Regions from separate parts of the Homo sapiens genome. Here region 2 is linked to region 1. The links are contacts of gene promoters, found by promoter capture Hi-C in blood cells and fetal thymus (Javierre and others, 2016). All regions are on one chromosome and are shown on one strand. The core of a region is centred on a gene start or on the middle of the fragment in contact, and the rest is flanking DNA. Distances in the headings are between cores, read along the strand shown. Region 1 holds the start of LINC02901 (long intergenic non-protein coding RNA 2901). Region 2 holds the start of ZDHHC14 (zDHHC palmitoyltransferase 14).

The links. Contacts are between HindIII fragments. The CHiCAGO score rates a contact against its expected background, and 5 or more counts as called.
Region 2: a contact is called between the fragment with the promoter of ZDHHC14 here and the fragment with the promoter of LINC02901 in region 1, in 1 of 17 cell types (activated CD4 T cells). The highest score is 8.4, in activated CD4 T cells.

Annotation. Positions count from the first base shown.
Region 1 is chr6:158,865,640-158,873,324 of GRCh38, reverse strand. It overlaps LINC02901 (long intergenic non-protein coding RNA 2901), which reads right to left and starts at 3,511. Exons shown (of 3, transcript NR_160980.1): 1 at 3,348-3,511. RefSeq lists enhancers at 2,518-3,191, 3,122-3,291, 3,192-3,864, 3,865-4,537 and a silencer at 3,372-3,691. The HindIII fragment of the contact is 6,622 bases long and covers 1-4,935 here.
Region 2 is chr6:157,376,179-157,383,863 of GRCh38, reverse strand. It overlaps ZDHHC14 (zDHHC palmitoyltransferase 14), which reads right to left and starts at 2,674. Exons shown (of 9, transcript NM_024630.3): 1 at 1,598-2,674. The coding sequence starts at 1,842. It overlaps LOC124901446, which reads left to right and starts at 2,773. Exons shown (of 1, transcript XM_047419644.1): 1 at 2,773-4,550. The coding sequence starts at 3,163. The coding sequence ends at 4,053. RefSeq lists enhancers at 1,617-1,756, 2,515-3,126, 3,738-4,350 and silencers at 1,847-1,896, 2,407-3,296, 3,457-3,536. The HindIII fragment of the contact is 8,143 bases long and covers 1-3,988 here.

The DNA.
Region 1 (7,685 bases), core at 2,262-4,761:
AAGAACAAAATTCCCAGCAGGATTGTTAAAACATATAGACAAGCCTAAAATACATATGGAAAGTCAAATGAAGTAAAATACCCAAGTAATCAGGAAAAAGAACAAAGTTGGAGGGCGCTAAGACTTACTTTAAAGCTACAGCAATCAAGACAGTGTCGTGTTGGTGAAGGGATAGACACAGATCAATGAAACAGAACAAATGGTCCAGAAATAAATTCACACAAATATGGCCAACTGACGTTTCACAAAGTGGCAGGTGCAAAGTCAATGGAAGGGAGTCTTTTTAATAAAGAACTTGTATCCAGAATATTTAAAGAACTCTCAAAATTCAATGGTAAGAAAACAACCTGATTTTGGCCGTGTGCGGTGGCTCACGTCTGTAATCCCAGCACTTTGGGAGGCCGAGGTGAGCAGATCACCTGAGGTTAGGAGTTCAAAACCAGCTTTGCCAACACGGTGAAACCCCGTCTCTACTAAAAATACAAAAATTAGCCGGGTATGGTGGCGCATGCCGGTAATCCCAGCTTCTCAGGAGGCTGAGACAGGAGAATTGCTTGAACCCGGGAGGCAGAGGTTGCAGTGAGCCAATATCGTGCCATTGCACTCCAGCCTGGGTGACAGAATTCTGTCTCAAAAAAAAAAAAAAAAAAAACCACTAGGAAATACTGCTGCATAACCATCAAAAATTTAAGACTGTTAACACCAATTGTTGGCAAGGATGTGAAGTAACTATAATTTTCTTTTCTTCTTTTCTTTTTTTTTTTTTTTGAGATGGAGTTTCACTCTTGTTGCCCAGGCTGGATGGAGTGCAATGGCATGATCTCGGCTTACCGCAACCTCCACTTCCCAGGTTCAAGCGATTCTCCTGCCCCAGCCTCCCGAGTAGCTAGCTGGGATTACAGGCATGCGCCACCATGGCCAGCTAATTTTGTATTTTTAGTAGAGACGCGGTTTCTCCATGTTGGTCAGACTGGTCTCGAACTTCCAACCTCAGGTGATCTGTCTGCCTTGGACTCCCAAAGTGCTGGGATCACAGGCGTGAGCCACCTCGACCAGTCCTTTTTTTTTTTTTTTTTTTTTTTTTTGAGATGTAGTCTCGCTCTGTCACCCAGGCTGGAGTGCATTGGCATGATCCCAGCTCACTGCAACCTCTGCCTCCTGAGCTCAGGAGAGTCTTCTGCCTACGCCTCCCAAGTAGCTGGGACTACAGGCGTACGCCACCATGCCCAGCTAATTTTTTTTTTTTTTTTTTTTTTTTAGTAGAGATGGAGAATCACCATATTGGCCAGGCTGGTCTCGAACTCCTGACCTCGTGATCCACCTGCCTCGGCCTCCCAAAGTGCTGGGATTACAGGCGTGAGCTGCTGCGGCCAGCCAATTTTCAAAAATTGATTCAATCCTTTTGGGAAACTGCCAGCAGTGTCTACTAAAACTAAATATACACCTATCATCCTATGACACAAAAATTCCTTTTATAGGTATATATCCTACTAAAATCAATTATTCATCATACTACATGAATGTTCAGAGCAGCTTTATGCATAATAGCCAAAAACTGAAAACAACCCACATACACATCAATGGTAAAAAGGATAAGTTAACTTAAGTATATTCATGCAATAGAATACTATTCAGTAATAAACAAACTTCAAACTACTGATACGTGTGATAACATGGAGGAATCTTACAGACACTACGGTGGGTGAAAAAAAACAGAAATGCAAAGGTGTCCAATCTTTTGGCTTCCCTGGGCCACACTGGAAGAATTGCCTTGGGCCACACATAAAATACACTAAAATTAACAATAGCTGATGGGCTAAAAAAAAAAAAAAAAAATCACATGGCGGGGCGCGGTGGCTGATGCCTGTAATCCCAGCACTTTGGGAGGCCGAGGTGGTCAGATCACCTGAGGTCGGGAGTTTGAGACCGGCCTGCCCAATATGGTGAAACCCCATCTCTACTAAAAATACAAAAATTAGCCAGGTGTGGTGGCACCAGCCTGTAATCTCAGCTACTCGGGAGGTTGAGGCATGAGAATCGCTTGAACCTGGGAAGCGGTGGTTACAGTAAGCCGAGATCACACCACTGCACTCCAGCCTGGGCAACAGAGACTCTGTCTCAAAAAAATAAATAAATAAATAAAGTCACAAAAAATCTCGCAATGTTTTAAGAAAGTTTACAAATTTGTGTTGGGCCACATTCAAAACCGTGGCCTGTGCGGGTTGGACAAGTTTGGAATAAAGCATAATGCTTGATTGCAATTACATGAAGTTTAAGAGTAGACACAACTCATACTTGGTAATTTAAGTCCAAATGAATAGTGGTTACCTCTGGGGAAGTACTACTGACCGGAAGGAGCAGTTGGAAACCTGGGGTGATGGAAATGTTCTAGATCTTGACCTAGGGGCTAATGACATGTGTATACATATGTAAAACTTCACCCAGCTGTCCTCTTAATTTCTGTGCGATTTATTGTGTGTAAATTATATCAGTTAGGAAAAAATAAGAAAAATGAAGGAATGATGGAGAAAAAAAGAAATGAAGAGAAACGTAACGAAGGAAGAAAGAAGGGAGGAAGGGAGGGAGGGAGAGAGGAAGGGGGGATTAAACCCAAGCACGGAGGGGGAGAGATGCTCCTCAAAAATATGCTATCAGTCATGTAGTGTTATTTATTTATTTATTGAGATGGAGTCTCGCTCTGTTGCCCAGGCTGGAGTGAGTGGCACGATCTCGGCTTACTGCAACCTCCACCTCCCAGGTTCAAGAGATCCTCCTGCCTCAGCCTCCCGAGTAGCTGCCATTACAAGCACACGCCATGGTGACCGGCTATTATCTGCATCTTAAAGATGGGGAAAGTTTGAGGTTTCCTGATGTGTTCAGCGTCACAGACTGGGTGAGTGACTCAAGCTGAGGCTAAAACCCAGGTGTGTAGGGCACCAAAGCCTTTGTGATTCCACCTCCTACAGCTCAGGTCACTTCCTCGGAGAAAGGTGACTCCTAGAAATGCCTCCCACCTGGAACTGATCTCCTCCTGGGAAGAACGTCTGTCTTATCGCCGTCGACCTTAGGCATGGACACCCTTCTGTCCCCCACCCACAACTGTGAGCCTGCTCAGGAGGCACAGCCGCGTTCATTCATTTTAGGCCTCCTCAAGGGCTCAGCGCCTGCTAAGCAGATGCGCGTTCCTGTAGGACAAGGGGTGGCCACTGGAGACGCGGGTGCGACGCAGGCGATCACGCCCTCGGACGACGCTGCGGACTGCGCTTCCTTCCGAAGAGGGAACCGTTGAGAAGAGTGAAGCGATGAGTTATGCCTCACTGGAAACCAACCGCGTCCGTGTGACTCACTTAGAAACTCACTGTTACATATTTGGAGCCTGAGCTGACGACCTTCCGGGTACACGTCAGGCAGAAGCAGGTGCGCGGTGGGAGTGTCCGCCCCGCCCCGCCGGTCGCGCCGGCCCCGCCCCCCTCACCTGCGCGCGCAACCCCACCCCAGCGCGAGGCTCTGCACCGGCCGCGCCCGCCATCCAGCTTTTATATGGCGCTATTTTGGTCGCGCGCCCTGATTGGCCGGGAGCGGGCGACGACACGCTCGCGCGCCTCAGGGAGGGGCCAAGATCTGGGGGAGGGGAGCTTCTGGCAGCCGCGCGGATCCGGGGGCGGCGGGGCGGGACTGCTGCGGTCTCTGGGGGTGCTTTGGGGCTTCTGTGCCTAGTCTGCAATCTGTTAGTGGGGTTATATTTTAATAAAAGAGCTTGTGTGTCCGAAGGGGATTTGCCAAGAACCAAACTCACCCTTCTGGGAGGGAGTTGCCAGATGGCGGGAACAGGCGGCGTAAACCTTACCAGACGTGAGCCCAGGCTGCTCAAGTGTCATTCGCGTCTTGAAGCTCTTGCCCGCCTCCCTTTGCAAGCGCGTCTAATGCCAACTCTACCTTGCCCTTTGCTAAACCAGCCCTCTAATGTGTTATCGTGCCTCACGTCAGACAATGGCTGGGCCTGTCTCTCTTTCCCCTTGGTTCTGTCCTCTGCCCTTCTCTTAAGCCAGAAGAACAAAACACTCCTTAGAATCGCTGGAGGATCTCATTTCCACCACATTCCCGTGTCCGGAGCCGAAGAGCCACGTCTGACCCTCACTGGTCTGGCTGTCCACCAATCAGGCAGCATTGCTTCTCTGAGTCTCAAGGTTATTAAATTTCTTCTGGTGGCAGACTGGTTTTGTACTTTGGTGAAAGTGACCAAATAGGTACGAAGTGTGATTCATCAAAAATTCTTACACTTAAAAAGATAAGCCAAAAGGATCATTCGAAGCCACCACTCCATATTAGATGGGAACTTAGCTTGAAAGGGGTTCTCTTAAGGATTTCTATTTACTTCTTTGAATTACAAATATCATCTCTGGTTGGAAAGCCTATAAACGCCTCTGAGATTTCCTGAGTTCACAACTTTGAAGATCATTTGCAGCTGGATGCAGAAAAAACAAACCTAGTAATTGTTGAATGTGGACATCAATAAGAATTAAGTACTTTTGGCCCAAAGGCAGTGGTTCACACCTGTAATCCTAGCACTTTGGGAGGTCGAGGCAGGAGGATAACCTGAGGTCAGGAGTTCCAGACCACCCTGGCCAACATGGTGAAACCCCATCTCTACTAAAAATACAAAAATTGGGTGGGCGTGTTGGCGCATGCCTGTAATCCCAGCTACTCAGGGCTGAGGCACCGAATTGCTTGAACCCAGGAGGCAGAGGCTGCAGTGAGCAGAGATCATGTCACTGCACTCCAGCCTGGGCGGCAGAGCAAGACTTGTCTCCAAAAAGAACTTTCAATGTGCCAGGCATTTTAAATGCTTAACAGGCATTTCATTTAATCCTCACAAAATCCCCATGACTTAGATACTATTATTATACCCATTTTACAGAAAGGGTCTAGAAAGCTTGCATAACATTGTGTCTGGACTTGGTTCCTGCCAGTGGGTTCGTGGTCTCAGTGACTTCAAGAATGAAGCCACAGACCTTCGCGGTGAGTGTTACAGCTCTTAAAGATGGCCGGGACCCAAAGAGTGAGCAGTAGCAAGGTTTATTGTGAAGAGCGAAAAAGCTTCCACAGCATGGAGGAGGACCCAAGTGGGATGCCGCTGCTGGCTGGGGTGGCCAGCTTTTATTCCCTTATTGTCCCCACCCATGTTCCATTTCTATCCTATCAGAGTGCCCTCTTTTTCAATCCTTCCCGTGACTGGCTACTTTTAGAATCCTGCTGATTGGTGCGTTTTACAATCCTCTTGTAAGACAGGAAAGTTCCCCAAGTCCCCACTGGACCCAGGAAGTCCAGCTGGCCTCACCTCTCAACATGACTCATGCAACACATTAGTACCATGGCAGTGCCGGGATTCACACCCAAGGTTGTCTGACTCCTGTGTGCCCTTAACTACTAAGCTCTGCAGTTTCTTCTTTCCTAACCAGAAACTTAGTCTTAAGCGGGCCCAGAAGGAGTTGGGATCACTACCAGGTGTTACAAATCTTCAGGAAGACATTTGTCCTGCTGCTGGTTTAAGAAAAGGATTGCTACTGTGGGGCGTGGTTGCTCACACCTGTAATCCCCACTATTTGGGAGGCTGAGGTGGAAAGATCACTTTAGCCCAGGAGGTTCAGGCTGCAGTGAGCTGTGATCACACCGCAGCACTCCATCCTGGGTGACAGAGCGAGACCTTGTCTTAAGAAAAAAAAAAAGATTGCTATGTGAGAGGGAAAATAAGGGTGCCTACAGTCTCAACAATCTCCGCTTCCCCTGAGCAACAGACCATATTAAATCTGCAGTACAAAGTTTCTGAAAATGTCTCAGATTCTGCTGTGTTCATCAATTTGGAGAACGACCTGTTTACAAAGTGGCCTCACTTAGATCCACTTGGTTGGTTAGGAACCAGGAAGCAAACCGATCATAAGAATGACTTTCAAACTTTCTTCTACACTTTCTTCCAAAAAGCTACCAGAACTACCTGATAGAAATTCCAAATACAGTAGACCCTGCAGTGGAAACTGCCTTGGAGCCAGGCAGGCTTGGGTTTAATCCCCAGTCCCACCATCCCCCAACCCGTCTCTCTGAAGTTGTATGAATTTCCAAACTTTTATGAACCTCAGATTCTTTATTTGTAACCTGTTTGGCTGAAAGGATTAACTGAGATCTCTGAAGTTCCTGAATTATTGAGTGGCACAAATAGGTATTCAAAAAAATGTTCATTATCTTTTTTGCTCCTTCCCGTGAATGATTAAGAAGAAAAGCACCTAGTCATGACTATTCTATCTTTATTATTTCTCTTACAGAGCTACATTGACTGTACTAAGTTTCATAGTCAGGTAGTAATTTACAGTAAGACTTAATTATCATCCATAACTTTAAATGTCCTTATCAAAACTTCAACGACATCACTTCCAAATACTAGCATTAGCTTTGTGTCTGACATTCATTTAACAAAGTTACTAAAAATCTATTAAGTGTAAGACTTTGGTTATTTTTTAATAGAACTTTCTGAAAACTTTTCAGCAATATAGCCTATTGAGAAAAATGGGTATGTTGAAAAACAAAAACAAAAAGCATGGTTTACAAACAAGTATTAGGGAAATAGTATTTTTATTATTATAACCTGTTCCTTCTTACTGCTCCCAAGCTCCAACTCTGACCATAACTCTTAATGAAAATAATTTGGTCTGGTAAGACTAAATAAATAAAAAAGAAAACAAAGTTTATTGAAAAGCAAAACATTGGGCTGGGCACAGTAGCTCATGCCTGTAATGCCAGTACTTTGGGAGGCCAAGGTGGGAGGATTACTTGAAGCCAGGAGTTTCAGACCAGCCTGAGCAATGCAGTGAGACCCCATCTCTAAATAAAAAAGAAAAAGAAAAAAAGACAAAAAACTAAGAACAGAAAGTAGAATTTAAGAAAAATTAAAGATGTTCCTTTACAAACATAATTCAGAGATGCTTTTCCCTTTTAAAGCCATTCAGTATTTTTTGTCAATTGATTTTGCATCATAGACATGACCCATCATTTTCAACACCGCTAATCAGTCAAAGGGAGACTTTTAAGTCTTCAAGTATAAAGTTGTAAAATGTGCAGTGTGTGTTGCACATCAGGGTAGTGGTGGATACTACTGCTAAAATACAAAATTTGCAAACCATTAGACATCCAAGTAAGTTTTAAATGAGCAGATTTCCAGAAATTTGGAAAGTATTAACAAAATGGTTTGAAATTAAGTGGAACAACTTTTCTAGCTCAAAAGAATATGACTTAGGCAACACGTACTTGACACCCAAACACCTGTGTGGATTAGTTGATTTAGTCAAATGAGCAGCCAGCTCAATAGAAAAGAAATTCATCAAACTCACTTTTTTAGACCACATTCACTTCTGCTTTTAGACTTAGCAATCTTTCATAGCACTTGTATCTAAGTAATGTGAAATTAACATATATATTAAATATGTAAGATCAATTATTGAAAAAACTGATGTTATTAGCTACAAAAATAGTAACATGAACTGAGGATGCACTGTAATAGATGCCGGATGCCAGAGTGGTTCAACATAATCATTTTGATTCTCCTTTTAACTCCTGTCATTGCCAGCAACAGTGATTTAGGTTGTGGTTGGCTCAGATTATCTTTTGCTGCAATAAATTTTTGCTGCAATAAAGGG
Region 2 (7,685 bases), core at 1,425-3,924, 1.5 Mb after region 1:
ACAGCAGCATGAGTAGAGTGTGTCTCCCTGCCACTCTGAATGCCTGTTCACACCCTTCCCCTCCCGTCCACAGGTCTCCCCACTGACTCTACCTACTAGTGTCAAACAGACACAGAACCTAAACATCAAGGGGGACCCGGGAACTGCACATACCATCGGAAATGGGGAAGAGGAGTTGTGTGTGAGAAGGACTGGGGAAGGGGAATTCGCTTAAATCAGAGATCCTTCTCATCGCCTGGTCTAACTCAGTCCTCTTAAAACTGCTAATCAGCGCACAGTGTCCAGATACAAAACGTTTCTCCTGAGAGTCAGAGGGCTTTGAGCGACAAGTATTACGTTGTCAAGAGATCATTCATTTCCAATTGAGACAGCATTTGGAAGAGCAAAAGCCAGGCACAAAATTAGAGCCTATTAATCCTAATCAGAAACAAAAGTAAATAAATTCAAAAGGTTTTAATTGAGCCTACCCAACAGGAGGAGGCGGAGACTGAAGGAGTATCAAGCCCAATAATAACCAGGATTTGGGAAGCCCAAAGAAGAGCTCCCTATAAATATATTGCTTTCTTTAAATTCTGAGGGGAAAAAAGTAACTCCACCTTTCATTGAACATAGGATACCAGAAATTACATAAGGAGTTGCATTCCAAATGTTGGATGCAAAAAAAGCAACCAAAATTGATTGGAATGTGGTTTAACTGCTTTATCTAATCACTGCTAATAAATAAGAAGACCTTTCATTAGTTGGCAGGAGGACAGTTGCTACTGGCCAATTTGATTTTCCTGAAAACGGTGAAGACTTGCATGCGCTTTTTATCCCCCCAGATATAATCCCTGAAGTCCAGACTGTTTCTGGAATCGGAAGTTGTCACGTAGTGTCATCCTCTTCCTTAACAGACCTAAGGTCTCCTTTCACATGTTCCCAAATTGTTTGTTTTGGACACCTTTTATTGCAACCTTTTTGAAAGTGAAGAGTTTAGAAACCTCATGGCAAATAAGAAATTGTTAATCCAGAGTGAGCATGTAGGAGGCTGGAGAATGCAATGATCTATCCAGGGCACACTAGGCAGCCGACACTTTGAAACCTGAAATAGCCAAGATTCCTCAATTATTCGTCGAAGTTACATGGGAGATTCAGTCAACTGAGCTTAAGAAGATGCCCTATATGTTGTCAGCAAGGGGGAAAAAGTCAGTTCCATGTATCCCTGACTTAGGAATCTATCGCACCCCACCTTCCCACGGCAGGCTACATCTGGGCTGATTTGCTGGGTCCCCAAACTCGGTAGAGAGCGCCCCAAGGATCAGGGACCGGCGGCCCCACCTGCTGGGTCCCATCCGCCACCTGGATTGGCAAGGCCTGGCCCCCCTTGCAAGTGGACCCCTTCCCTCCCTGCTCCCAGAAGCCCAGCCCAGAACGGCGTTCTTTCCGGGGGCCCAAAAGCAATCAGACCTTTAAAAGAAAAAAGAGGGAGCGCAGACTGGCATTATATAACAATTTACAGTAGATAAGACTTCTAGAAAACGAAAGCAGCCCGAGGAGGGGCGGGGGACAGGGGAGACCAGGGGAGTGCGGCGTCGGGGGAGCGGTCGCCACCACTTACTCGAAGGCGAAGAAGAGTCCGCTAGTGACCAGGATGAGGACGAGCGTCAGGTAGAAGACGCCCGTCTGCCGGGCCATCATGATCCTCCCGTTACAGAAGAACTTGTTTCTTCCCGGGAACACCTCCCATTTCCTCCGGGCCGCGATTTTCTTCTTCTTGTGGGGCGACTCCATGGGGGAGGAGCTGTGGGTGCTGATCTGGCTGTACTCGCAGTCTTTCATGGGCCCGCCGCCGCCGGGAGGCATCCACGAGGGCAGCCGGCTGGGGGCGCACACCCCCAGGAGCCCCCCGGCCGCGCGGGCCCCGCCGAGCCACGACCGCCGCCGGCCGCCCGGCCGCCCCCCGAGCCGCGGCGCCGCGGCCCCTACACGGGCTCCCGGCTCGGCGACAACTTTGCCGAGGACACCCAGGTTAACCCTCCGGGGAGCCCAACTGTCATAGCAGAATCCCCGCTCCGTGAGGGGACGGCGCTGGTCCGCAGCCCGCGGCAGCACTCCTCCGTCGCTTCCAGCCCGCGTCCCGGGGCGCGGGGCTCAGCCCGGCCGGCCCCCGGGTCGCCGAGCGCCCGCCCCCTCGCGCGGCTGCCCGCTCGGCCCCGCAGCCCCCGGCTCCCCGGCCGCGCCTCGGCTCTGGCCCGCCGACCCCCGAGCACTGCGCCCCGAGGGGACACGAGGCGGCGGCCCCGGCGCCGGCTTCCTCGGGAGCCACTTCTGCGGCGCGGCCAGGTTGGGTCCACTCCTTCCTCCGGCAGCGGATCCTCCCAGGAGAGAGCGCTGGCGACTGGGCGGCCGCGCGCGGCACCGGCAACCCCTCCCAGGGGTGGGGACAACCACGCACGTTTTTCTGTCAGGAGCCTCTCGGCGAGAGCCGGGGCGCCGCTCGCACCGCGACCCGGTGTCGCTGCGCCTGGCAGCCTAGTCGAATCCGCGGCCCCCGCGCGGGGATGCGCGGGCCGAGGGCGGCGGCGGCTCGCGGGCCGCGCGGCGAGGGCTCCCTTGCTCCCTCCTACCCGGAGGAAGCGGCCCCGGCGCGAGGAGGGCCGCGGGGACACAGCACAGACACTTGTTTGCAAGGCTCAGCCCGGCGCGCGCGCGGCGCTCCGAGTGGGTCCGCCTCCTCCGGGCCGGGTGGGCGGTGGCCTCGCGCCTCACCCGCGGCTCCTCCTCCTGCTCCTCCTCCTCCTCGCCCGCGAAGCCAGGGCACCGGCGCAGCGAGATTCCAGCCCCAGCCCCCTCGGGCGGGCGCCCTGGGGTGTGGAAGGCGCGGGGCTCCCTGTGGCATCGCCCAAGTAGGGATGGGGTCGGGCGCCCGCGGCCCCGCCGCGCAGTGCGCTCCTGGCCGACTTCAGTCCGTCTCGCGGCTTCTTCCGGGTTTATCCCGCGCAGCAGCTGCCGCCTCGGGACACGCTCATTCCCACGGCCACCGGCAAGCCACTCCTGGCGACTCCCCGGGACCTGAGGAGCCGCGGCGCGGAGGTGACCCTCCCCGGCCTGCGCCTCCCTTCTTCCTCCTCCCCAGCTGGGCGCGTGGTCGCGTCGCCCGGGGACTCTGGTGATGCCCGAGAAATGGGCTGGGGGTGCCGGGTGCCAGGATGGGGTGGGGCGGCCCTAGGCCGGCCTGACTTCGGGACCGGGCTGCGGGCGAGGGTCTCGGGGCCCGGCTCGGCCGGCTTCCGGGCCGAGAAAGAAGGGCAGAGGAAGCGGTCAGGGTCCCCTCCGGCCCCGGCCTCCCTCCCGGAGTATAAGCCCTTGGAGGCCAGGTTTTGGGTTGCTGCCGCCCAGCTCTTTCGGTCTCCACTTCTCCCCACGGACGTTTACAGCTGCTCGCTTTATTTCTCCCTCCATTCCCCCGTGGAGCCCCCTCGGCAGCGGAGGGGTCGCGTGCTTCTCCTCTCCCGCCTGCGCCTCCCCCCTTCCCACCCGACAGCCCAGGAGGAGCTGCGGGCGCGGCCCTGGGACGGCCGGAGCCTGGGGCTTCTGCTCGCTCGCGCCCTCCCAGGCGTTGCCGCGGGTCCGAGCCCCCGCAGAGGTGGGCATAGCCCCGGGGCCGCAGAAAACGAAGGCAGCTGGGCAGGGATGCTCAATTTCCCGAGCCCCACTTTCCTTTCACAGCCCACTGGGATGTGTAGTTCTTCCGCCCGCAGGCCTGCGCCGAGGAGAAGCACGACTCGGGGCCTTAGAAACTACAAGTCCCTGCATCCCCCGCGACAAGGGCAGGAGAGGCGTGGTGCTGGGCGTTCTGGGGCTAGGTGGTGGGAGATGGGAACCAACAAAGGGGGTTGTGGGGAACGGTGCCTTCTCTGTACTGGGCAGTTTGCACGTTACACATGTTCTTTGTCTAATCTTCGCCGGAACCCGGTGAGGCATTATTGTATCCAGCTTAGAGAAAGCTTAACTACTGGCCAAACATCACAAAGCTCCCAAGTAGTAGAGATGGCATCGAACCCAGAGCCCTAAGTATGTCCCTTACAAAGCGTGCCTCAGTGAGGAGTGTCGAAGGGGGATGAGATTGGCTTATCCAAGAGGGCCAGTTGGGAGGAGCTGTGGTAAGGAAAAAGTGATGGGAATAGCAATTAGAGTATGACATGCAATTACAAGGAGTTTTGAATACAAGTGAAATTTACAGGGGTCCATTCCAAAGCCGGTTAGAGTCTAGGGAGAATGGATCTTAAGCACACGATAATAATTGGGTTTTAATTATTTTAGATATTGTATGAGAGACAAGCATATTACAGGGACAATTAAGTATTTGTGGCTGGACTAGTTTTAAAAAACCAACTGGAAAGCTTCATACATTTCAAGTGAAAGCTCTCATATGCTTTCCTGTCCTTTAGCTAATGAGATCAACGGGGTATTATTCTTATTCTGTTTATTGCAAGCACCTTTTCTGTGGGTGTCCAATTAATATAATAGATCCATTGATTTGATGGCATTAAAAAAGACTCCCACTCTTATTCTCAATGAAACCGAATTTTTCTGGCATTATGGTTATGCTTTTAAAAAGTCCTTCCTTGTCTGTTAGAGATATGTACTAAAGTATCTGCCAGCGAAATAATATAAAGTCTGAAATGTGCTTTAAAACACACCAGCCCATCCACTCCCCTCCTCCCACCCACCCAGCTCCAGACATGGAGGTATAAATGAAACAATTGGAAACTGTTGAAAATAGTTGACCTTGGGTGACATGTACTTGTACTTAATTATTTATTGCTGCAAATTGCCACAAACGTAGTGGCCTTAAAACAAGACAGATTTTTCTCACAGTTTTTATGGATCAGGTGTCCAGGTACACTCAGTCCCCCACTTAGGGTCTCACGCCTGCCATCAAGGGGCTGGCCAGGCTGCGTTCACATTCACTGGAGAAGAACTGGCTTCCACTCTGACTCCGGGCACAGGCAAAATTCCTTTCCTTGCAGCAGTAGGACCGAGGGCCCTGGCTTCTTGCTGGCTGGAGACTGGAGACTGTCCTCAGCTCCAAGAGGGAACCTGCAATTCCTAGAGGTTACCTGGACTTCATTGTCACTTGGGCTTTCCGAGCACAGCCACTTATTTTGTCAGGCCTGCAAGGAGAGTCCCCAGAGTGAGTCTCCAGCAAGACAGAATTTTATATAACATAAAGCAATCCCACGGGGGCAACTTCAAATGTGAACATTCTGTTGGCCAGAAAGCATGTTTTGCACACACTCAAAGGGAGAGGAGTACACAGGGCATGAACCCTAGGGTGAGGGACACCCCGGAGTGCATCCACCACAGTGTACATGAGAGTCCATTATGCTTTTCTTACCTACCACATCTACTCATGTTTATGTTTGACATTTTCCATAATAAAAAGAAATGAATTCGTTTTAAAATGTTACCTAAAGTTTCCACAGCAAATAAGATATGCTGATATGATTTCTAAATAGCTGATACAATTGTCTGTAGTTGTCTTCCAGGGGATAACTTTTTTCTTCCCACTCCATGTGTACTAAGACCTCTGCGGTTAATTCACTTGTATGGGTTACCCTCCCCTAAGAGCGTTCACTAGAACCTGGTGTGTGATAGCTGCAGAGTTCACCTCACCAGCTACAGTTGATCTTGAACAATATGGGTTTGAACAGCGTGGATGCCCTTAGACACGGATTTTTTTCAACCAAATGCAGATGGAAAATACAGCATCCGTGGGATGGGAAATGCGAGTATTCAGAGGGCAAAGGCCCACTCTTCCTATATGCAGGTTCTGTGGAGCCTGTTTAAGGACCTGAATATGTGCAGATTCAGGTATACGCAGGTGATCCTGGAACCAATCTCCTGAGGATACTGAGGGATGACTGTAAAACCTACTGTATAAGGGATGGTAGAGTTTATTCATTTATTTTACAGTTATCTATTTCAGGGCCTAGATTGTGCTAAGTACTGTTTTAGCAGCAGTGATACAAAAAGATCCAAGATAGAAGCTTATATTTGGGGACTGGGGGAGAGGTGGAGAGAATAAACAAATAAATAAATGACTAGTAAGACAATTTCAGAGAGTAATTACAAGAACGAAAAAACAAAGCAGGGTTATGGGATGGAGAGACTGGGGTCGGGCAGAGAATCGAATGATGGGAAGGGGCAAGTACCAAGTCCTCAAGGCAGAACAACCTGGAAAATTCTAGGGGTACAAAGAAAAACCAGTCTGGCTGGAGTGGAGCGAGGGCCAGGGAGAGAGGGAAAAAGGAACAGGAATTCATTCTGTGTGCACCAGCATCAATTCTGTATGCCACACTCTGTACCCACCATCGGTGTAAGTGTTGAGGGGTCTGAAAGAAAAATCACCGTCCTTGCCCTCCAGGAATGTATAGATTCCAAACTTTAATGCTAGAGGGACGTCAGCGTATCTAGAATTAGAGACCAAAACTTGTATTTCTCAAACAAGGACACTGAAAAGTCAAAAGACCTGCTAAAAATTCCTTGAGAATGCCTCGCCAATAACAAATAATCCAAAAATGAGTCTTGAATTGAATTGAAAGAGTGCATGATCTACTTTTGCTAAATGGGGTTTAGCCTAATACTGCCTCTTTACATATTTTAAGTTTGGCCTAAAGGTTTCTCTGTACACTGAACTGTAGCCTAAATGGAAGTGTAAACAGAGTGTGATCTACTCGGGTGTCAATTACTGAGTTTTGGCCACTCAATTGTGGCCAGCTGTTCAAACCATGTTCAAATAAGACAAATGCTGAGCTGTAACCATCTGGCTGTTTCCGTACCTCATTTCCGCTTTCTGTACGTCACTTTCTTTTTTCTGTCCATAAATTCTCTTCCACCACGCGACTGCACTGCAGTCTTTGAGGCTACCCTGGCTCAGGAGGCTGCCCAATTCATGAATCATTCTTTGCTCAGTTAAACTATTTTAAATTGAATTCAGCTGAAGTTTTTCTTTTAGCACTTTAAAGCTTTAGAAAATTGATAATGTTTAGTGCTTGTCACGTGCAGGTCAGTATGATGAAGGTAAATGCGGCAGAGAAACTACAGTTAAGGTTGGGAAACAAGATGGAGGCACATGAGAAATTCAATAATACAAGAGAACGATATTATAAAAATAATGATCTTTTCTCCAGAGTATTTTTGTATTAGTCAATCTCCTGGTTCTTTATACATTTAGATCATTAAATCCGGAGGACAACCTGATGAGGCAGGGATTATTATCTTTATTTCACAGAGGAGGAAACTGAAGATCAGAGAAGTTAGGTGATTTGCCCAGGGTTTTGCAGTAAGTAAGTAATAGAGTCAAGATTCTAGGCCAGGTATGAATGTCTGACTCAAGCTTTCCTATATCCCCCACACAATGGAAAGAGCACGCGGTCTGATGAACCAACAACTGAGTGGAATAGAGAAATCATCTTGATTTCAGAGTGAAGAGAAATCTCAGGCCCAGCCTGTAGCAAAGTGCACCTCTGACCTTGACAGTTTGGACAGGAAGAATATGAAAGGGTTAGTCTCTCAGGGAAATGGGGATGGGTACAGAAAAGTAAATTATTGGGAAAGTGCATGATGTTTCTAGCTGGAGTAGAACTGACAGGGATCCAAGCACAATTAGTTTATTTGGGAGGGGATTGCAGAAAACACCA